Linked DNA regions of Homo sapiens: region 1 is linked to region 2. The links are contacts of gene promoters, found by promoter capture Hi-C in human tissues and cell types (Jung and others, 2019). All regions are on one chromosome and are shown on one strand. Each heading gives the region's core, a stretch centred on a gene start or on the middle of the fragment in contact. The rest is flanking DNA. Distances are from core to core; before and after follow the strand shown. Region 1 has its middle 27 kb from the start of GGTLC1. Region 2 holds the start of CST4 (cystatin S).

Region 1 (5,304 bases), core at 5-2,504, 330 kb before region 2:
GACAGTCTCAGAGAAGGGAAAAGAGAACACAAGCTCACACACCCAAAGTTCTGATATTTGTAGACTCAACCGTGGAATCCACTGAAGCAAATATAACATTTGGGGGAAACTTTAAGAAGTTCAGATTGGTTTGCCACTTTAATCCTTCCCCAACTGGCCACAGCTGTCACCAGCCAGGACCAAGAGAGAACCAGCCAGGGGAGAATATTAGAAATTTCACTCTCATGCCTATCTTTTGGAGCAGGCTGCTCACCTGTCTCATCTACCTGAGTCCTTGAGAACCATCACCTTTGCCTAGGTTCTTGCTCCCTGTAGAGCCCTAAGCTGTTGTCCAGCTCTCTGGGGACTTGTGCTGGGAATGAGCCTCCTCTGGGTCCCTCACACCAAGAAGTCACTGGCCACAGACCCTGATCCATTTGCCTCGACTCACGATTGCTGTGTCTTCTGGCTGAGTCTGTGGACTCTCCCCTTGCATTTACCATGAGTTACACGCCCTTATATCAACTCTGTTGCCCTGAGTTTTCTCTAAGTAGCCCTGGTATTCTTTTCTGTTCCTTCAGAAGAATTTTTTTTTTCATGTTCAGCATTTCTTTCCCTTGTTTTTTGATTTCACTTATAAGCCAGGGTCTAAAACACCTCAAAGGGGTAAAAAACATGTAAATCCTCCTTGATTTGTGTTCCCTCTAAAGCACACACTGAGCTAAGAGCTTGGGTATAGATGCTAAGTGGGAAGTTGTTTCCAGGAAATACAGGTAGAGAAATAAGACAGTATCCAAAATGTGGCATTTCCATACAATGGAACAGTGTTCAGCCTTAAAAAGGAAGGAAATTCTGACACATATCACAACACGGATGAACTCTGAGGACATTATGCTAAATGAAATAAGCCAGTGATTCATTACTTACAATGATTCCACTTATGTAAGTGGCTAGAGTCATCAAATTCGTCACGACAAAGTAGAATGGTGGCTGCCAGGGGCTGGGAGGGGGAGAGTGGGGAGTGTTTAATGGGTACAGAGTTTCAGTTTTGAAGATGAAAAGTGTTCTGGAGATGGGGCTGGTGATGATTGTGCAACAATGTAAATGTACTTAATATCACTGAACTGTGTACTTTAAAAGGGTTAAGATGGTAAATTTTATGTTATGTATATTTTAATACAATAATAAAGGCATTGTTTAAATCAGAAGACATATTGTTTAAAAAAAAACCAGATGCTGATGGCAAGGTAGGGCTGTTCCAGAGGAGTGAAGGGAGGAGACCCATCAGAGCAGCCGTGCCTCCTGCATTTAATAAAGGCATCAAAATAAAATAGATGAGCAGAAAATGAGACTCATACTCTTGCACTCTCTTTATCATAATTGGGCCACTTTAGCAACCACACTGGGGAAGGGAATGGGTTTGATTTTAGTGGTTATGTTAATTTCTGTAAAATAAATCAGATTCTTGAATCAGCAAGCTTTACCACCCTTTGCATGAGTTTAGAATATAAATGAAAGCTATTTCTCTTCCAAGATGATCTGGGTTAAAAAGCAATAACACACAGGAAATATGCGAGCCATTTCTGGAGCTGACATTCTGCGATCTCCTACTCGACAGTTATTAGAGGGACAGCAGATCTGCGTTCCCACCATCATTGTCGTACTGAGTGGCTGAGCGATGAGTGAGGCTGGTGTTAATGATTGACCGGGACTCTGTGGGAGAAGCAGTGAGGATGATGGCCAGGAGGTGCCAGGATTTTGGAGTGTTACAGAAAAGTGCTACAGGGTCTTAGGTAAATACCAAGTTCTTGCAGTCCTGCCTGTCTCAGCAACTAGCATTCTTGTGTATTTAGAGGAATTTGCAAAACATAAAACATATCAAGCATAGGAGGTTCTCCAGCTTCAAGTACACCTCACCTCCATAGCTCCAATCAGCTGGGAACATAGAACAATCATGGATAGTGTTTTCCTTCTAAGCTAACAGCAGAGATCGTCAAGGAAGGTGGTTCAGATAGGAAGGGCACAGAATCAAACACCAGAAGGTGGGGTCTGTCCCTCAAGTGAGACTAAATTGCTTGTTTCATATTCCCAGCAGTTACAAAGCAGTGACTTTAATAAGGCTGTGTTTAAGGAATTTTTGTTTGATTGGGCTGCAAGGCAATGGGAAACGAAGGTGACATGCATTGCGTGATTTATTTTTGGATTCTCTGCATGCATGGGTTTTATGAAGACAGGATGAGAGAATATTTTAGCTGGAAGGAAATACAGTTTATCTAGTTTAAACTGCTTACAGTCTGAAAGTATTTCAAACTAAAAGGAGCAGTGCATAGATCCCTGCACAATTTCAGAAAGCAATAATACTCCTAGCACAGAGCAGCCCCGCTGTGTTGTCTGGAGAAGGTGATAGGTGGACTGCAATGGACAACCCACCTCTCGGACCTACACCTCCCCTGTGCTGTTTTCTGACACAGGCTGTGAGGCCTGTCCTTGGGAACCAGGACTCAACACCATCTTAGTAAACTCACCCCGCTGCGGGTCCTGGTGAACACTGCACAAGGAGACAATGATGCTTAAGTAAGGGCACAGAATCCACTCTTGTATAGGGAGTGGGCATGAGGACAAGGGGGCCAGCTGCTGCTGTTGTCACTAGAGCAGAGTTAGGAACTGTTCGATGTAACTTATTTACTACATTAATCTCTGCAAAGACCCATGACATGCCAAGGATGTTTCCTCTTATACAGATGAGTTTATTAGAAGTTCCTATGAGTAGGTAGAGTGGCAAATGAGCCTTAAGGTTTATTAATAAAAGTTAGTTCTTTTAGAGATAAATAATGACCTGATATAGTTATTTTTTAAAAGAAGGAATTTAAGATATCTACCTTATAATACAAAGCCACAGACATCACTTCACATTTTTCTTTGAGGAACTTGCTGTAATAGGCAACCATATACAAAAATGAGAATGCGAAGGAAGGCATATCATTAAAACAACAAAAAAGAAAATATAAATCAATAGCTTTTCTTTTCATACATGATTCATGTGAACATGGAGTATTAAATGTAGTTTTGAAGTATTGGAAGGACACGAGAAGTAGAGAAAGGGAATCAGGACAGGTTAGGTTAGCACCAGGTATATGAAAGGAAGCAATGGGTTTGGTTTACAATAACAAGCGCTGCAAGAGAGCTGAGGAGGCTGGGAGCCATTGCAAGGGTGTCCCAGGCTGCATAGGGTGGGTCTGGGTCTGAGTCTGGGCTGGAAAAGGGAAAGGGAGACAAGGTCTCGTTTTGTGGGTTCTGAATCTGGCCAGAGAACTGCAGGGAGCAGTGCCACCGATGGGCAGGGCAGCGGGGATGCTGCCTTTCATGGTCAGAAATAGGGGAGGAGAAAATCCACAAGACACTGGAACAGAGAACCCAGGAGATGGCAGTGAGGGTGCATGCACATAGAGATGCTCCAGTCAAGATGCCAAAAAATAAAGTCAAGGATAAAACGAGACTGGTTTCCCAAACCCTGACACACATGTGTAAAGTGAAATGTAAGATGTGAGCAAAGTACTCATATAGCACAGAAGGGAACGCACTGCTCACACAGCGAGTAATCAACACTGTGCTTCCCTTTGCTTCTGGAAGAATCCCAAAAAAGGGTTTGGACAAAGTTATGAAAGACAGAGCAGTAAGTGGAGCTGAAATGCCCCCAGTCATTAAGCCTGAGATTGAGGAAAACCCTAGTCCCTTCCCCACTCTGATCCTAGGGCCGCTGGCAGCTCACTTAGCTCCCAAAATGTCCCAGGTTCACTAGAAGTTTGGCCTGAAAGTGCCTTCGTACCTTTATGAAGATCAAGGTCAAGTTGACTATGGAGACCCCCCTGGCTGCTTCCCTCCGCTAAAGAAAACCAGAACTGGACAATAGTTAAAGCTGTAAAAATAGATTTGGTTCAGGAATGATTGCAGTAGGATAAAAGAAGCCTCAAAGTAGAACATGGGTCACTCCTACAGCATGGACAGTGGGGACTTTCACCAAAGAGCAGGGTGGGGTCAGCGGATGCTAAATCAATAAGAGGAAGCATCCGGCCTGTAGGTGGGGGAATCTGGCTAACCCGACCTAGTAGGATTCTTGCTGAAAGCAGACAGGGTTCAGACATCTCCTGGGGGATGGTGGAGGTGGGAAGCTTGATCAGCTGTCAGGAGTCAGGGATTCCCACTAAACTACTCCAACGCAGACACCTGCACACACACATACACACACACCAGATCACAGGCACACATACATCATCTATCACACACATCCCACACACACATGCACACTGCATGCACATCACACTCCCACACACATGACACTGTGCATTTCAGCCCCCACGCTGCTCCCTGTACCCCACTCTTCCCTCAGATGTCTTGAATCCTCAGCTAACAGATAACCTGCCATCATTTAAGCCAAATGAGCTGTAAGTGTCCACCCATGTTTAAAACAGTACTAATGTTTTGTTTCTTTGCTATTTCTAGGTTAAAAATAAGAGTTATAAAATGTTCTTTTGTAACCTTGACGGATTTCCTTGCAAACCCACAGGACAACTAATATGAACAAAATATCACCAAATGAAATAGAAATTAAAATTCTTACCTTAAAATAAAAAGTATTTAGATTAATAAGGCCTCTTTCCAAAATGTATACTTTTAGATACAGACATGTAGGACAAGAAGGGCAAGTTTCATTTCATCCAGCCGATGTGTGTGGCTCATCTGGGCAGCAAACAGGCCCTGATGGAGTGAGTGTGACAGAAGGCAAGAAGAACAGCCTACGAGAAACTCCGAAAACCAATCTTGCTACCTTTGTGGCTTGGTCCAGGGCTTACCTGAAAGGGTCAGAAATTCAACAGGATCAAATCATCATTGACAAAATCAAGCTACTAGTTCTAAAGGGATAAAATTTCAGGTGTGTCCTTGAGAGAGCTTAAGTTTTCATTTTCTGGACAAATCAAGACCTAATGCCAGGGAAATTGATGCTGTGCTAAAACGTTACTCAGCCGCAGCTCTCGAGTAACATGGTAGGAAAGGATGCAGAGAAGTGTGATTTGCACAAGAAATGAAAGGTTCAGGGTGAAAGTCCATTGGGTCACAGTAGACACAGCTATGCAAAAACTCAAATCTACTTCCTACATAATTTTCTTGTCAAGATTCAAGAAAAATGCAGTAATTTGAACTAATGTGTTGGCTTAGAAAACATATATTAGGAAACATGGGGAATAATGAACAAACACAGGACAGTAACAATGAACAGAACAAAGCGATCTTGTTCTGGAGCCGATGGTGTGTGTTGTCCACTCCTTT
Region 2 (4,761 bases), core at 1,603-4,102:
GACAGCTGACCCTCCCTGCAGTGCATGCCAGAGTCCTGACAGAAGATGACCACTGGTGGTGTCATCACATATGGGGCACAGGTCAGCACTCTGGCCTCCCTCCCTCACACTCCACCCACCAGCACATTCTCGCTATTTGGGTTACCTGCATCTCCTTTCTGATGATTAAAAAAAAAAAAAAAAAAAAAACAAGAGGATTGCTTGACTTTCAGTTTACCCTTTGCACAGCATGTATGTCTTCCTGAGTCTGGACTCCCAGCTGTCCCAGGAAGGTGGGAGACACAGAGGAGAACTAACTCCTACCCTTTGGAGATGACCATTCTGCTCACAAACACCTGGTAAGGGACTTCCCTCTCTTTCCCTTCTCTGGGAATCTCTCCCCATTTCCTGTCTAACTAGGAGGCATATGTAAAGCTCTGTTTGAAGACCTTCCCTCCCTCACCCAGCAGTAAACACCATGGGGACACCTGCTGTATCTGCCAGGCTTCATGGCTATTCTAGGGGTGCTGGATTCACAGTGGGGTGAGATGGTCACCAGGACTCAGGTAACAAGGTTCCCTGTCGTAATACTGAACATGAGCACCCATAAGTAATATGGTTCCTGCTGCCAGGTTCCTGCTGATCCATCCCCAGACATGTCCGAGCCCAGGATGACTCTTGGCCAGCTTGTCCTCATCACTTGCACCTTTACGTGATGCTTTCTGCGCTTGGTCATTTGTTTATTATAGTATTGTTTAGTGTTCTAAACAGGTCTGGGCTGACACTGGCCAACCCTCACCTCCACCACTCCCAAGACAGTCCTCTGGGTGTCCTGCTAAGGCCCAGGGTTTCCTGGAGTTTCTGGCCAAGCCTGCCACCTCCCCATAAGGGCATTTGCCACAGGGTCACCTTCAGGCATGGAGGGTGGGGTTGAGAGAACAACGAGAGCAGCTGTCTGTTCAGAGCCTCCTTCCACCCTCCCCACTCCTGGAGACACATTCCAGCCCAGGCCCACAGCATCCCAAGCTGGGGGCTTTGTCAGCCCACAGGACACCCAACTGACCACATCCTCTCAGTCTGTGGAGAAGGAGAACTCACAGTCTTGGCAATGAAGCAACTCAGGTGCCGCTGGAAAGCCACACTGAGCAAAGGATGAAGACACATCAGGGCTCGCTCTGCAGGACTCCATTCCTGGGAAGCTCAAGGACAGGCGACAAAGGTGTCTACAGGGCCGGATGGGGGCTGCCAGGGTGGGGCGGGCACGAGGGTGGCTGGAGAGGCAGGAGGATACCGTCTGGGGCAAGGCAGATGTCACAGGTCTGGACAAAGTGGTAACACAAGTGTATGCATTTATGAAATCCCCCAGATTGGGCACATACTATTAGGCATTTTATTGTATGTAAATTCTACCTCATTTAAGGCAATTTTTAAAATGCCACGTGAGTCTTCCAAGGAGTGCACAGAGGAAAGGAGCCTGAAGCATGGCTGCCTAGGAGAGAAGCAAGAGAGGCCTGTGGGTTCCCACATTCATCCCGTGGCTGCTGCTCCCTCTCCTGACACCCCCACTGCCTCACAGGGGTCTCCGTGCACCTTCCACCGGTCCTCACCCACAGTTACCGTGAGACTCCAGGTGGTTTCCTCCCTTGCTCACATCCCCTCCAGGAGCTTCCTCTTCCTGGAGCAGGCATGTCCCAACCCCACCTCAGGGCCTTTGCACTGGCTGTTCCCCGCTGCCTGGGGCTGCTCAACCTCTCCAGTCTCATAGAGACCACCCTGACCAGGGTCCAGTGGTCTCTCTCTAGCCCCTGTTCTATTTCACTTCCAACAGAGTGAGTATAACTCCCTGATCCTAATTGTTGATCGTAACCTACCATCCTCTACACACACTGTGTAGGAATTTACTGTGCAGTTCCACAGCCACCAGCCACATGTGCCACAGGACACTTGAAATGGGGCCAGTCCAAAATGATTCCTGGGCTAAGTGTAAAAAATACACAGGGAATTTCAAAGATTTACAAAACCAAAAAAAAAAAACACACATAAACGATCTCATTAATAATTGTTCCCGTTAGCTGAAATAATATTGTGGCTATATTAGGTTAAATAAATATTTTAAACATTACTTTCACCCATTTATTCTCATCTTTTAAAATGCATCTACTAGAAATTTTCAAATGCTTGTGGGTTCATGTCACATCTCTGTGGGCAGCAGCTCTGCAATGTCACCTCTATGGCTCATCATCCAGGTTCCGTCTTCAAGCCCTAGACCTCCTGGCATGGGCAGTAACTGGTGATAGGTTTGTTTATTGAATAATGAGTTATGAAAACAGAAGCCAGTGACCTTTTCCAAAAAGGTTAATTCCCTTAAATTTGGCAAAGAAATTCTCCATATTAGGGTGTGGACAGGGTCTTCTGGAACCTTCTGAAATAACCTCTCTGTTCCAGAGATTCAGAGACCGTGACCAAGTGCTCCTGGAAGCCTCTGATATCTGAAGACCCCGGGAGGCCAAGCCCTGTATTTTTCCCCTTTCTGAGCAAACAGGAAGTCACATTGCTTTCACAGTCAAAGGACCAGTGTCACCTCTGTGGAGACCTGGGTGACTCAAGCTTGGGAGCACTGGGGAAGAGAGGCATGGCTCAGGGAGGCTGCAGTGAGGACTGGAGTGGGGAGGAGGGGGAGATGGAGGAGGAGGCCTGGGAGGGGCAGGGGGAACTTAGGCAGGGAGGGAGCTTGTAGTGGTGGGGGAGTGAAAAGAGAGATGGAGAAAGAGGGGATGGGCAGAAAGAGGAGGAGGAGTCAGGGGCAGGGCATGGAGGTGGGTGGGGCTGGGCTGCCAAAGCAGGATAAATGCACACCTGCCTGCTGGTCTGGGCTCCCTGCCTCGGGCTCTCACCCTCCTCTCCTGCAGCTCCAGCTTTGTGCTCTGCCTCTGAGGAGACCATGGCCCGGCCTCTGTGTACCCTGCTACTCCTGATGGCTACCCTGGCTGGGGCTCTGGCCTCGAGCTCCAAGGAGGAGAATAGGATAATCCCAGGTGGCATCTATGATGCAGACCTCAATGATGAGTGGGTACAGCGTGCCCTTCACTTCGCCATCAGCGAGTACAACAAGGCCACCGAAGATGAGTACTACAGACGCCCGCTGCAGGTGCTGCGAGCCAGGGAGCAGGTGGGTGCTGCCTCCACCCGAGGGGTCCTGAGCCCTAGCCTGGTTTGTTGCCGGACCCCCAAGAGCATTCCAAGCAAATCAACACTGACACATTCATGATCTAATGCTCAGATTCATTCAGCTTTCTCTGACTCTCCGCTGATGCCCTTCATGCCTAAGCATGCTCCCGGTCCATGCACTGCAGACAGTTAAAGGAAGTGCTGCAGCTTCCTTTAACCTGCAGCAGCTGCTGTGTCTGTACCATGACCGTGGCATTTCCCAGCGTCCAGCAGGTGTGGATGGAGACTGTGCTGACTCTGGGTGGGCTTGATGCTGCTCAGGATGAGATCCAGGCGGTGAGGCTCATTCTCCTCCCTGAGTCCTCTCCTCAGGGGCCACATGGGAACCTGGCTCCCTGTTCTGCAGAGCCCTTCTTCCTTCCCCAAGTCATGCCCTTGGGCACAGCCCCTTAGGGCTAGTGGCCTTCACCCTCAGGCAGGCTGACCCACCCCTGCAGGCCAGGATGGCTGAGTCCCTGCTGGGGTGGAGCACGCCTGGCCCTGCCTCTACGAGCTGATGCAGAGTTAGACCTCAGCCAGATGAGGACAGCAGTCACCCAGCAGAGCAGAGGAGGGGTTAGGTCCAGAGTGAGCTTCAGCAGGGCAACTGGGCCCAGCTTGACCTGCATCCCATGGCAGAGCAGCAAATAGTGACACAGCCTTTAGAGCTCCTCCACCTTCTAGAAATTCAAAGGAATCCAGACCAGTCCCGTTTCTCCTCCTACAGCTGTCAGCTGGAGCCCTCACCCTGCACAGGAGGTGCACTCCCTGGTGCCATGGTCCCCGCTGGCCTGCATCTCCCTCTTAAGCATGACAGTAACTTGGAGTGAAGCACAGGGCATTGCAGACCATCAGACCTGGAAGCCTATTTTATACATGGGTAAACTGATACTCGAGGGATCTCAGCAGTTCCTCCTGGTTCCAAAGAGTCCCTCATCCCAGGTTTCTCCACAGCTCTGCCACGTAGTGTCTGGGAGAGGCCCTGTGCAGGGAAAGGGTTCAATTATAATCTGCAATTGTAAGACACTCAGGTGTGCTGCTGACTTGAGAAACGTATCTTGAACCTCACACTTGAAATGGTGGCATCTGGGCGGCCCCATTGACCCAAAATATCTGTGTGTGTGAAGCATCTCATTTCCTACTCTAAGTGAAGTAATAAATCTAGGTTAAATGGAGGGAATAAGATTTTCGTGAGTTAGCTGAAATTTTGTCATCAGACAGCCTTCCTAGAAAAGAGTCAGTGTTCCCTCACCCCTGAGCCACAGGTAGCAGAATTCAATGAATCCTCTTACCCAGCACAGAGAAAACGATGTTTAAGAGCGGGCATGAGGCTCAGCACCCTGCCAGCTGACAGGAAGAGGGGGCTTGTGTGCCTTGTGTTGACATGTGGGCAGCTCACGAAGCCCCCAAGCAAGTCCAGTGACTCAGCCACAGTGAAGTGCCTGTGAGTGCATGAACTGATGGGGGCGCTGTCCGTGCTTCCTGTTTTCTCCTGTGTGCAGACCTTTGGGGGGGTGAATTACTTCTTCGACGTAGAGGTGGGCCGCACCATATGTACCAAGTCCCAGCCCAACT

The links. The method cuts DNA at HindIII sites, captures the fragments that hold promoters and counts their contacts. A contact is called where the count stands out against the background at its distance.
Region 1: a contact is called between a fragment that was not itself captured here and the fragment with the promoter of CST4 in region 2, in 1 of the 25 tissues and cell types used here (spleen).

Annotation. Positions count from the first base shown.
Region 1 is chr20:24,013,120-24,018,423 of GRCh38, reverse strand. No RefSeq gene overlaps it. Among named protein-coding and RNA genes, the nearest start is that of GGTLC1, 27 kb to the right of the region's middle. The HindIII fragment of the contact is 3,098 bases long and covers 1-2,803 here.
Region 2 is chr20:23,687,129-23,691,889 of GRCh38, reverse strand. It overlaps CST4 (cystatin S), which reads left to right and starts at 2,852. Exons shown (of 3, transcript NM_001899.3): 1 at 2,852-3,148; 2 at 4,689-4,761. The coding sequence starts at 2,921. The HindIII fragment of the contact is 7,573 bases long and covers 1,050-4,761 here.